Regions from separate parts of the Homo sapiens genome. Here region 1 is linked to region 2. Evidence: promoter capture Hi-C in 16 types of primary human blood cells and fetal thymus (Javierre and others, 2016). All regions are on one chromosome and are shown on one strand. The core of a region is centred on a gene start or on the middle of the fragment in contact, and the rest is flanking DNA. Distances in the headings are between cores, read along the strand shown. Region 1 overlaps LOC124904858 (a long non-coding RNA gene). Region 2 holds the start of SDCBP2 (syndecan binding protein 2).

Region 1 (6,639 bases), core at 1,236-3,735, 410 kb after region 2:
TGAGGCAGGAGAAGGAATTTCACAAGGTTAATCACCCAGTTAAGGTGGGGCAGGAATAAATCACAATGGTGGAGTGTCATCAATTAAGGCAGGCACCGGCCATTTTCACTTCTTTTGTGATTCTTCACTTGCTTCAGGCCATCTGGATGTATTCATGCAGGTCACAGGGGATATGATGGCTGAGCTTGGGCTGGAGGCCTGACAGAAAGCATAATGCTACCCTTAGATTACATAATGATTTAAAAACAATACACAGCAGGAAAAAGTAAAGGGTAATTAAATAAATTCTGGGTACATCCGTATTTTAATATAAATTGCACAAAAACCTTTTAATCTGAGGAATGCAATGCCCCTTTCAATTATCAGGCCCAGAGAGGCACTGGAATGAGAAAGCAGTCATGTCCCACTTCCCTCCTTCAGCTAAGTAACCATCTCTTGAGGCTGCTTGCCATGTGGACTCTAGACTGACTGATGCCCCAGGTAGATACAATTTAATGTAACAATGCCATATGTGGACACTATAAGTCATATTCTATAGTTAAATAACGTATAAAGGTTACTAATCAATGTTATTTTTGTAAAGCAATGAGAATTCCTGACAAAAACTTTTGTAATCATCCCCTCCCCTGGTTTGTCCTTTTTCCTTAAAAGCTCGAGTCTGTTCTTTATTCTCCAAAGTGACTTGGAGGTGTTTCCTGGGTTACAGTCTTCAAATTTGGCCCAAATAGACCTTCTACTTATATTAATTTTATCTAAGCTTCTTCTCTTAGGTAGACATGTCCGCTGTAGTCAGCAGGATTCAGAGGGACCTCCCAACACTGAACATGCTGCCTTCCCTCTTGGGCTCAGTGCTTGGTACCAGCATTAATGCACTATGTTCCTCAGACTCCAGAGGTTTCACAGGGTGTAAAAGGGTGAGTCCTCCTGAATTCAGATCTCCCTTTCTTTTTTGGTGAGGTTTTGCCTTTATTTGGGCTGTTCTCTCCAACTGCCTCTCTTTAGAATGGAGGTTTTGATCTCTGTCTATGGGCAGGAGATTCTGGTTTCAGGAATAAAACAAAAGATAACTGTCTCCTCTGCTGCTATTTCACAGCAGGTGTTCCAGGTCGTAGCATTGGCAGTCTACCATAAGTAGTTTCATTTCTTTTGGCCTAAAATTACATAGCATGCTGTTAAAATTGTAGCTGTTCCCTATTGCATGAAATTCAGACTTGTATTTTCATTTGTGACCAATTCCTGTTTGTTCAAAACCAAAGGAAACATGAGGATGAGTTCAATTCTCTCGAAGAGAATTGCATGAACAGCTGTTACATGCAGGAGAGGGACTCATGACTCACTGGTGACACTTTGTGGAGTGATGCTCACAAAGCAACACACTTTGACCTGATACACTGTCCTAGCCTTGGACACTTTTGAAAAGGAAATTCTAAAATTACGGGAAACTGCTGGACGAAACTGAGCTTTCCTTTAAGGGGCAACCATCCTTAGGAAGACCAGCTGCATTTATGTATAATACTTACTGTATTAGTCTGTTCTCACACTGCTATAAAGAAATACCTGACACTGGGTAATTTATAAAGAAAAGAGGTTTAGTCAGCTAGGTGCAGTGGCTCATGTCTGTAATCCCAGCACTTTGGGAGGCAGAGGCAGGGGGATCACCTGATATCAGGAGTTCAAGACCAGCCTGACCAACACGGTGAAATCCCGTCTCTACTAAAAATATAAAAATTAGCAAAGCATGGTGACACGTGCCAGTAATCCCAGCTACTCAGGAGGCCAAGGCAGGAGAAATGCTTACACCCGGGAGGGAGAGGTTACAGGGAGCTGAGATCGCGCCACTGCATTCCAGCCTGGGTGACAGAGCAAGACTCCATCTCAAAAAAAAAAAAGAAAAAAAAAAGAAAAGAAAAGAAAAAGAAAAAGAAAAAAAAAGAGAGGCTGGATAGGTGGAGCACAGGGATTTTTAGGACAGTGAAACTATTCTGTACAATACATCAATGGTGGATGCATGTCATTATACATCCATAGAGTGTACAACACCAAGTGGGTATATGGGAACTCCCTGTACTTTCTGTTCAATTTTTCTGTGAACCTAAAACTTCTCTAAAAAGTAGTTTAGTAGGTTTTTTTTAGTGTGTGTGTGTGTGTGTGTGTGTAAGTCCCTCTAGTAACCAGGCATGACGGCATCCACCTGTAGTCCCAGCTACCAGGGAGGCTGAGGTGGGAGGATCACTTGAGCTCAGAAGTTCAAGGACAGCGTGGACAATACAGCCAGACCCTGTCTCTTGAAAAAACAAAGTCTTGGCACTTCCAGAGCCCGGTGCTGCCGGCCGCGGGAGATGAGTGCCCAGTAGGGAGACTTCTGTGAAGCGTCCCGGTCCTGCGACGTCGCCCACCCGGGAGGAGGCGGCTTCTCGGTTCCTCAAGGCCCCCGGGAGTCCGAACCTCGGCAGGAGGCTGGCAGCGGCGTGGGGACCCAGAGGGCAGGGGCGGTCTGCGGGGCGGCCCTGGGACTCCCTCCCTCCCTCTCCTGCTGCGGCCGCCCTGGGATATGGGGGCCGTGGATGTGGGTCGCCGCTGGAGGTGTGGCCCTGGGTGGTCCATCCGGCCGCAGAGGCCCGTCCCCCGTTCACCCAGGCCGGTACCCTATGGAGCACCTATTACGTGCAGTGCTATTCTGGGTTCCTGGGATGCCACCGAGTGAGACGGACACACAGACTCTCAGCCCAGAGGGGAACCGTCCCTATTAATCAGGTATGATCCTCCCTCTGCCCGTCGCCTAATAACCCCATTGTTTCCAGACAACAGATCAACAAGTGCTTCACGTGCAGGCGGCCTGGCATGCCTGGCATCTTCCAGCACACTCCCCTTGGCTCTGCTACAGCCTTTTTGGCCTTTTACTTCTTGAACGTGTGGTTCCTTGGGTAACGATGCCCTCTTTGGTCTGGTTAATTCCCCTCCTTAGGATTTCTTGTATTAGGGCAATCCTTGCTAGTTTCTGTGTACAATTTGCCTTTTCATGGGTTTTTCGGACTACCACATACTCGTTCCTAGCACTTAGCACAGGCGTAACCTTACAGTTATTTGAGTGCAAGTTACACAAGAACAAGAATTTTTCCGCCTAATTTCTAGTACCAACCACATTGCTTGGCACAGAGTATGGTTCAATAAATATTTGTTGGCTGAGAGGCAAATGTATTTGTAATTATCATGTGAGATACCTGCTGTAAAAAAAAGGGAATACCTGCCTGGCAGATGTGACTTAATTTGCATCCTCCAGGATATGGTTTTTTGTTTTTTTTTTTTTTGTTTTTTTTTTACAGAGTCTTGCTCTGTTGTCCAGGCTGGAGTGCAGTGGCGCGATCTCCCATCTGCACTTACTGCAATGTCTGCCTTCCAGGTTCAAGCGATTCTCCTGCCTCGACCTCCCAAGTAGCTGGGACTACAGGCGCATGCCACCATGCCCAGCTAATTTTTTGTATTTTTAGTAGAGACGGGGTTTCACCGTGTTAGCCAGGATGCTCTCAATCTCCTGACCTCATGATCTGCCTGCCTCAACCTCCCTAAGCGCTGGGATTACAGGCGTGAGCCACCGCACCCGGCCAGGATATGGCTTTTAAGTTGAGATCTTCAGGGTGAGCAGAGCAGAAGTCTCCCTTGAAGCCAGGAGCTCAAGCATAGCCTGGGCAAAATAGTGAGACTCTGTTTCTCCAAAAACATATGAAGTTTAGCAGGGCATACTGGCATGCACCTGTAGTCCCAGCTACTTGGGAGGCTGAGGTGGGAGGATCCTTGAGCCTAGGAGTTTGAGGCTGTAGTGAGCAATGATTATGCCACTGCATTCCAGCCTGGAAGACAGAGTGAGACCTGACCATATACGTGTACATATATGATTATTACACAATTGGAGATTGAAATATAATCTATAATCAGTTTTTCATTTACTGTATTTGAATATTTGCCTATGTTGCAAAATATTCCACAATATGGTTTTTAATGTTTAGTTTATTTTTTTCCAATTTATACCAAACTGTTGGATATAAAGTTTGCATTTTTTGATATTATAAATAACTCTGCAGTGAATATGAGCTGAAATCTCAGATAAATTCAAGTTGAGATTTTTAAAATTAAAAATTGGTTTTAAAATTTGGATACTTAAACAGTATATATGTACATGGTAAGAAAAAGAGTTACCTAAGATTCTATGGTTAAAAAAGCTTCCTTGTCTAGGTGCGGTGGTTCATGCCTGTAATCGTAACACTTTCGGAGGCTGAGGCAGGCAGATCACCTGAGGTCAGGAGTTTGAGACCAGCCTGGCCAACATGGTGAAACCCTGTCTCTACCAAAAATATAAAAATTAGCTGGGCATGGTGGCACACACCTGTAATCCCAGCTACTCAGGAGGCTGAGGCAGGAGAATTGCTTGAACCTGGGAGGTGGAGGTTGCAGTGAGCCAAAATCACACCACTGCACTCCAGCCTGGGCAACAGTGAGATTCCGTCTCAAAAAAAAACTTCCATCTCTACTTAGACCCTCAGCCCCACTCTCCAGAGAAGACCACTGGTACATTTTCTAAATGAGAGAAAATCATATGCACTGTTCTGAACCTGCCATCTGATACTTAATAGAACAGATCGAAACATTCTTAGGTAGGTATTTCTGTGAAGGAAAAGTTGCAACAGTTTACACTCCCGCCAGCAGATAATGGGAGTCTGGTTCCTTGTACTTTCTCTAGCTTGAGGAATTATCAATTATCACTTTTTAAGTTCTCAATCTGATGGATAGAAAATTACATTTTATTGTTTTAATTTGCCATCTTTATTTACTAGAGAGTAAGAAGCTTTTTATATGCTTATTGGTTATTGATAGGTGAATTGATCACTTGCTATGGTTTGGATGTTTGTCCACTACAAACCTCATGTTAAAATTTGATCCCTGATATGGTTTAGCTGTGTCCCCACCCAAATCTCATCTTGAATTGTAATAGCCTCCACATGTCAAGGGTGGGGCCAGGTGGAGATAATTGAATCATGGGGCCAGTTTCCCCATACTGTTCTTGTGGTAGTGAATAAGTCTCACGAGATCCAATGGGTTTATAAATAAGAGTTCCCCTGCACAAGCTCTCTTGCCTGCCGTCATGTAAGACATGATTTTGTGCCTCCTTTGCCTTCTGCCATGATTGTGAGGCCTCCCCACTCATGTGGAACTGTGAGTCCATTAAACCTCCTTTCCTTTATAAATTACCTAGTCTTGGATATGTCTTTATTAGCAGTGTGAGAACAGACTAATACAATCCCCAATATTGGAGGTAGGGCCTAATGGCAGGTATTTGGATCATGAGGGCAGATCCCTCATGAATAGATTAATACCCTCCCTGCAGAGGGTGGGGGGGTGGGCACAGTGAGTGATTTCTTATGATTAAGAGCTGGTGGTTCAAAAGAGCATGGCATCTCCCCTGTTCTCTCTGTTGCTTCCTCTCTTGCCATGTGATCTCTGCACATGCCAGCTCCCCTTCCCCTTCTGCCTTGAGTGGAAGCAACCTGAGGCCCTCACCAGATGCAGATGCCTAGCCTTGATCTTTCCAGCCATCAGTCATGAGCAAAATCAACCTCTTTTCTTTTTAAATTAAAAAAAGTAAAAACAAAGTCTCTCTAGTAATATAAAATGATAAAACATAAAATTGAATCAGATGTAAAATGTGTTGTGGACCCCTGACGTTTTTGCAACACAATCAAAACCCATTTCCTCTCTCTTGCCAGCAGAGGAAATAGGTTTAGTTAAACAAGGATGTGTTTTTGGAGGGGTCATTTGGAAAGGGAAGAGAAATGATGGGAGGAGAAAACGATAATCAAACCTCTGTGGGAGAGAGGGTCACACAGATTTTAACACCTTTAACATGGGAAGTCACCATTCCCATCTACTCCCCATGTAGGCAGAGAAATGGGGAGAGGCAGAGGAGAAATGCCCAGAACAGGAGGGAATGGCCAGGAGTTGGGCAAGTCAGTTGGCCCCTCCTGGGCTCAGTTTTATCCCCTGTAAACCAGAAGTAGCAATACTTACCTTACACTCTTTTGTGGAGATTAAATAAAATAAAGTGTTTGCTATGCAATGATGCTGAATAAATAGTACTAATTGTCATACCTGATGCTTGGCAAACAACAGGAAATTGCTAAGTGTTGAATGAATCTTACTGTATGTTGTCAGTCACTGACCTCTGGCTTTTCCAGGTGCTGTGGACCTACTGACACTTTTTCTTATCTGGTATTGTAGAATTTCTCTTGCCTCTCCAAGGCCAACTCCTCCCTCTGGGATTCCTTTGGTCCCTCCCACTTGTTAATCCACAGAGCTGGCATCCTTATCATCAGTTATGGAAAGCCTATGGCTTGGTTTCACTGGAACAGTCTCGGGTTATACCTGTTGTCCTCATGTTTTGCTTGTTTGGGTATTTGTCCTTTTTGTTGTTGTTTTAACAAAGTATTATTGTCAATAGTTGCATTAACTGAAGCTGGGGTGGATTTAGTAAACTTCCACTTTGTACTTGCAGCTTCTGCCGTGCTCTCACCTTATAGGCTGTGAGATACATGTGTAGTGAGCGAAGTGCTTTTTTTTAGCACTTGGTCACAGTGTAACTAACCCCTT
Region 2 (6,557 bases), core at 545-3,044:
AGTGATGGAACTCCCACTCGTTCCTGTGGACAGCTCATCCGTCCTTTACAAGACAGTGCGCGGGAGGGAAGCGTGGGTTAGAGTGTCAGAGGAATAGCTCCTGGAAGGCCAAATTAGCCCAGGGATGTGGTGAGTCGGAATAGAAGAAGCTGTTGCTAGGCCACCAGCATGTACCCCCACTCCTCCTCTCAGTGCTGCACTGCCTGCTGGGGAAAAGCTGTGACTTCCTCAAGCAGACACGCCTGAACCCAGGCCCAGGCAGGGCAGGGTTCAGACTGACTGCTTCTGACTTGTGAGAGCACAGCATAGGCAAATCCCCTTTGAATGTCATTTCTTCCTTTGTAATCTGGATAACAATAGTTGCATCACAGTTGTCTGGAGACTGAAAGATTTTTAAAAAGAGTTAAGGTGTATATGGAAAGCATTTAGCACAGCACCTAGCACATAATAGGCATTCAGTAAAAGTTAGCTGTTTATTCATTGTTTCAGCGCTTACTTACTCAGCACCTGCTAAGTCTGAGTACTGTTCTAGGTATCAGCAGTGAAGGAAAGAAGACTTGGTCCCCAAATGTACTTTCTTTGGGGGAAGAGCTGGATAAATAGGCTTTGTGACTCTGTGTGCTGTGTTAGATGGTGGGAGGCACTGGAGAGAAAGAGCAGGACGGAGGGTCATGTCAGGAGGTTCAGAAGCCTTGCTGGCTGGGTGGGGTGACATTTGAGGAAAGGCCTAATGGGGTGGGCACGGCCATTGCAGAGCCTCTCAGGTGGGAGTTGGTGTTGTGTTTAGAGGACATCTGCCAGTGAGAAGCCAGTTGTGCAGAGAGGGAGTAAGGAGGAGTAGTGGGGAGGAAGCTGGAGAAGTGAGAGGGGCCAGATCCTGGAGGGCCTGGAGGTCATGGTGAGGACTTTGGCATTTACTGTAGTGAGATGGGAGCCACTGGGGGATTTGTAGCAGCAGAGTGCCAAGGTCCAAGGGTTATTTTGACAGGCCTCCTCTGGCTGATGTTTGGAGGATGGGCTACAGGGCAGGAGTGGGAGCAGGAGCCCAGGTGGGAAGTGATGGTGGTGGAATTGTCATGAGCTTGGGCCACTGTACGTGAAGCTGCCTGTCCAGTGCTCGCCCAGCCCATACCAGGCTCGTTTTCTGCCCCATTTTCTGAGACCCTGCTGAGGAGGGCATGCACTGGCTCCTGTGTCCAGTATGTCCTTCCATTCTCCTGACTTTGTGGGCTATTTTCAGTCTCCAGATGAAGAAACCAGTTCTTAGAAAGGTGAAGCCCCTGGCGCAGTTCCCCAGCAGGTGTTTCAGTGCTGTGGCAGGAAGGTTTTTTGATAGAAACAGCCTCAGGCCAGAGAAGTCGGCCTGAGCTGTGGATTCCTTGGGAGAAATGGGCTTTTTGCCTGCCTGCAGCCTCTGGTTTCGGCTGGAATTGGCCTTTCAAGGAGCAAAGTGTGGATCTCATCTCCTTGAGCACAGTCATGGGCAGTCAGAAGGCATCGGGGGCCCTCATGATGTCTGGGTGAAGAAAATCACTCAGCCCTTAATCAAACTTGGTCCAGGGCTGGGATCAGAAGAAGAAACCCCACTTCACACTTGACTGCTTGGAGTGAAGCACTTCGAAAGGAAGCTGCCTGGGAAGTCCCAGAAGGGAAGGGGCAGGGAGGGAAGGGGACAGGGTGAGAGCAGGTCTCACTCATCCCAATCCCAGCCAGGATTGGGTCAGGGCCCCCAGCGCTTACCTGCAGGCAAGGTGCTGCTCCACGACCTTCTCCAGCTGCTGCCGCTGCTGAATCTGTTTCCCTCCCTGAAACGTAGCCCTGTCTCTCAGCTGGCTTCCTGATCTGGGAAGGGTGGTGCCTGTCCCCTGTTCAGCTGACTCACCTTGGACTGGGATGGGCACAGGTGAGGGCTGTGGCTGGGTAAACAAGGCAGGTTGCCAGCCCAGAGGAGGCCTTTGGCCTTAGTCTGGATTTGGAGGTGGGATTAAGGCCCTCACAGCTGCTGTTCAGACGGTTATGAACCAAGACTTCTTGGCCTTTTCTTAAATAGCTCTAAATTTGGGTTGGACACCTAGTCCTGCTGATCGAGGCAGTTGGCTAGAGGGCGGTTTGTGATAGGTATCTAGGGGTCTAGGCCAGGATATTAAAAAGTGGTCATATCCTGTGACCCAGCATTTCTTCTAGGAATTTGTTACAGTGGAGTCACAGGGCCCATCCATCACTGCTGCTTCTAGTAAGGAAAATGTAGAAATCCCAAATGCCCATCTCTGTGGTCTGCTTGAATAAATCATTGTCTGTGGAAGATCACAGAGCTATTAAAGTCACTTAAGGAAGAAGGTATGAGGAAACATTTCTGAGATTCTAGTGAGATGTTGAAAAATCAATATTGTGAATCTCTTCTTGCATTTTGTTTTCATTTTTTGTAAAGTGGATGTGCGTTGAAAGCAGTCTAGGAGGACATACGCTAAAATGCTGAGTATCTCTGAATGGCAGCATTGAGGGTGAGGTTTTCAGTTTGTACTTTTGTGTGTTCCAAGGTGGTTTTTTTTTTTTTAAGTTAGCTTTTGCTCTGAATGCTCATGACTTTTGTAAGGGGGAAGCAATTAAGTTTGATTATTTTAATGGGAATTTAGAGTGGTTGTCTCTTGGGAGCAGACCTAAGGAGCTGTGTGCTGAGGTGGAGATTTTTTTTTTTATGGCACATTTTTGGTGTCTTAAATTTTGAAAAGTTTAAATGTACTACTTATTCCAAAAATAATTATATAAATTTGAACAGAAAAGGAGGAAGAATTTAGTTTAGATCCTGGTGGGTTTGGTTGGGTGAGGGTGCCTGTCGCACTGGGTGCCTGGGGAGGGACGAGGGACTCGTGTGCTGGGCAGTCCCATGAGGATTGACGCTGTACACACTCAGGGTGTGTCAGTATCTGGGCTGCTTCCTGGGCCAGGCAGGCCTACGTCACAGTTCCCATGACCCACCTGGCAGAGTTGCACTAGCCTTGGGTGTCAGATCTTGTGCCTGCCAATGAAGAGCTTACAGCCCAGAGTCCCACACAGGAAACACACAATAGGAATAATAACAAGAAAGACATTTGCCACTAATTCAGCACTTACTCCCAGAGAGCACAGAGATTCTACCCCTGGCACTTTAAAGGCATTATCTCAATGGCTTCTCATGCCATCCCTGCAGAGTAGGTGTGACTCACACCATTCCTCCAGGTGGGGACACTGAGGCACAGAGGCAAAGTTTCTCTCTCAAGTTAGCTGGAAAGTGGGCCAAGTTCATGTCTTCTCTTCTATGGGACATACTGTTTCAGAAAGCTGAGGTGTGGGGCAACCTCAGAGTAAGCTGTGTGGGCCTGAAGCTGAGGTAACGTGGGTGATGGACCCACCTTAGGTCAGGTGTCCAAGGCCAAAGCAAAGTGGAAAATAGAGATCCTAACTAAACCAAGCCACTCCTCCCCCACCTCACTTCATTCAGTCATGACCTGAAAGGGCCTTTATAGAAGAGGGAGGAGGAAGCAGGCCCTTCCAGGTAAGGGGCTTGCCTGTGGTCCCAGCATGTCAGCATGGAGCCCAGGTCCCCTAACTCCCACCTATTTAATACCTACAGGGACTCTCTTTCTATTCCCTCTTTGGATAGTTGCCACCCATCACTGACTTCCAGCCACCTGGAAATATCTTTCATTGGGCATGCCCTTGCTCGAACTCTTCAGTGGCTCCCTCCTGCTTCAGGGTCTGGGCTAAACTCCCAGGGCTGACATGGAGACCTCCACAGCCCACTCCCTTTATTACCTCCTCAGCACTCCCCCAGCACCTCTGCCTCAGCTGGACTGGGAGCCCCACCATTCCTGCCCCACTGCACACCCACTTCCTACCTGCCCTGACTCCATACCTTTGCCTGTCCTGCTGCTGCCCCTGGAACACCTTCTCCTGCCCCCACCCACCTAGCCACATCCACCACTGAGCTCCTCCAGGAAGCCTCTGGGATCCCCCACATCCATGTGGCCTCTCCCGCCTCTGACTCTGGATCAGACGCTCCTGTTCCATTCTTTAATAATCATCATCTTGTACTCATGTGTACCTTTTAGGCTACTAGTTAGACCCTAAGTTCCCTGAGGGCAGGGCCAAGTTATTAGCTCTACAGTGGTCATTCTTTTGAGACAGCATTTCGCTCTGTCACCCAGGCCATAGTGCTGTGGTGCAATCATGGTTCACTGCAGCCTCCACCTCCCAGGCTCAAAGGATTCTTCCACCTCAGCCTCCCTATTAGCTGGGACGACAGGTTCACACTGCCACACCTGGCTAATTTTTTTATTTTCTGTAGAGACAGGGTTTTGCCATGTTGCCCAGACTGGTCTCAAACTCCTGGGCTCAAGCAGTCTGCCTGCCTGAGCCTCCCAAAGTGCTGGGATTACAGGTGTGAGACCCCACACCCAGCCAGTTACTCTTTTCAAAATAAGGAGTGGAACTGTGCTCTGACCAGACAATATTTCTGCTTTGTTATATATTTGTATGAACAAGTCTAAAACTTTGGGTGGCCAGTAAACAGCACACACTCAGAAACTCCCTGGTAGCACCCATGGCACCCTGAGTAATCAACCACTAATGTCCTTCCTGCTGGGCCCAGAGGCCTCTCCGGATCCTCTCGTCATAATGCTGCAGGCAGCTACCGTCACCTAGAGTTGGCTCATGAGGTGAAGTCTCCATGCCATCTGGAATGGGTGCTCCATGATGGCAGGGGCTTGTCTTAACCCTGAGGCCTAGTACTATGCCTGGCACATAGCAGGCTCACAGTAAATTTTTTTTTTTTTTTTGAGATATGGTCTTGCTCTGTCTGCCAGGCTCAAGTGATCCTCCTGTCTCAGCCTCCTACGATCCTCCTGCCTCAGCCTCCCAAGATCCTCCTGCCTCAGCCTCCCACAATCCTCCTGCCTCAGCCTCCTGAATAGCTGGGACCACAGGCGTATGCCACCACAGCTGGTTAATTTTTGTATTTTCTGTAGAGATGGGGTTTTGCCATGTTGCCTAGGCTGGTTTTGAACTCCTGGGCTCAAGGGATGTATCCACCTTGGCCTCCCAAAGTACTGAGATTACAGGCGTGAGCCACCACACCTGGCCTCAGTAAATATTGACTGAGTGAATAAATGCCCCTCCTAGAAAAGTCAATCACAGTTAGAAACTTAAATGGCTGACCCTTATTTAAAAGATGGGTTGGGCTGGGGCATCCGATCTGAGTCCCAGCTCTGTGATGTTGCACATGTTACTAAACCTCTCTGAGCTGTAGTTTCCACACCTACCTTCTTTATAGACTTATCCTGAAGACTAAATGAGGTAACCATGTGAAGTACCTAGGACACAGCTGGCATTTAGTAAATGTTAGTTTCCTACTTTCTCATGGCTACATGTCACAGAAACAGTCATCTGATTGGAGTGAAAATAGAGATGCTCTTCCCAGAAGAAGAGAGAATGTCGGCTGGGCAGAGAAGGAGCTGCTCTACACTCCAGCCCTCTGCATGGAATCTGGGTAGTGCAGCAAGACCCTGGCTTATGTCATCACAGCTTTGTTCCTACTGCTGAATTGAAATAATAACAGGAAGCGTAGCATTTATTGAGCTCCTGCACACTGGGTGCTCTGCTGGGCACTGGGCATACACTGATCTCATCTGTTCACCATAATTCCCAGCTTCAGAGTGAAGCACTTTGCCCAAGGCAACACACCCCAAGAGTGGTAAGGCCAGGCCTTGGCTCTGAACCTCTAGGAGTCTCCTACCCTAGTGCAGCTGAGTCACAGATTTCTCTTTAAGAAACCCACAAAGAAGTCCTTAGGTGGCAAAAATTTGATCACATGGCCACATAGAGCTGCATGGGAGACTGGGAAATGGAGGCAGTCTATTGTTAGCAGGTTCTGTGCCAGCCTCTACTATAGCATGCTGTGAAGCCCTGCCCTTTCTGGACCTCAGTCTCCGTATTTGGCCAGGGAAGAGTTTGGATGGATTTTCTCTGAGGTTTGCCCTAACGGTACTAAGGCCCCACAAAGGGCCAACTCTATTGCCACTTCCAGTCCCTCCTGTGGCGTGAACACCAAAGATGTCCACTATGAGCATTTGGTCTCCAAACACAATGTCCTTCATGCTATTTCTGAGCTCCATCTTGGTTTTGCTTTTTGGAGATGTGTGTGAGTTAAGGTAGGCCAGGTTATGCTGCAGCAACAAACAACCCTGAAATCTTGGTGGCTCCTAATAGGAAGTGTCATTCTCATGCACGCTACTACCCGTCAAGGGCTGGCAGGGTCCCCATGTCTCCTTACTCCAGGACTGGGGGTGATGGAGCAGCTGCCATCTCAAAGGCCGTCAGAAGCCACGGCAGAGGGAAAGAGATCTCTATCTGGCAATTAAGTGCTCCAGCCCAAATGACAGATGTCACTTCTCACACCTTGTTGGCCAGGTTACCCCACCTCCCAATCACAAGGGAACAGGGAGCTGCCATCCCACCACATGCCTGGAAGGCAAAGAGTAGGAAATATAGGAGGATGACATTAATAACAACCTCAGGCCTCT

Evidence for each region. The method cuts DNA at HindIII sites, captures the fragments that hold promoters and counts their contacts. A CHiCAGO score of 5 or more calls a contact.
Region 1: a contact is called between a fragment that was not itself captured here and the fragment with the promoter of SDCBP2 in region 2, in 1 of 17 cell types (naive CD4 T cells). The highest score is 5.8, in naive CD4 T cells.

Annotation. Positions count from the first base shown.
Region 1 is chr20:1,733,367-1,740,005 of GRCh38, forward strand. The region is part of intron 2 of LOC124904858 (a long non-coding RNA gene); the gene reads right to left. Among named protein-coding and RNA genes, the nearest start is that of SIRPG, 79 kb to the left of the region's middle. The HindIII fragment of the contact is 3,460 bases long and covers 756-4,215 here.
Region 2 is chr20:1,327,345-1,333,901 of GRCh38, forward strand. SDCBP2 (syndecan binding protein 2) reads right to left here and starts at 1,795. Exons shown (of 9, transcript NM_080489.5): 1 at 1,741-1,795. The region is part of intron 2 of FKBP1A-SDCBP2 (FKBP1A-SDCBP2 readthrough (NMD candidate)); the gene reads right to left. The region is part of intron 1 of SDCBP2-AS1 (SDCBP2 antisense RNA 1); the gene reads left to right. The HindIII fragment of the contact is 15,880 bases long and covers 1-6,557 here.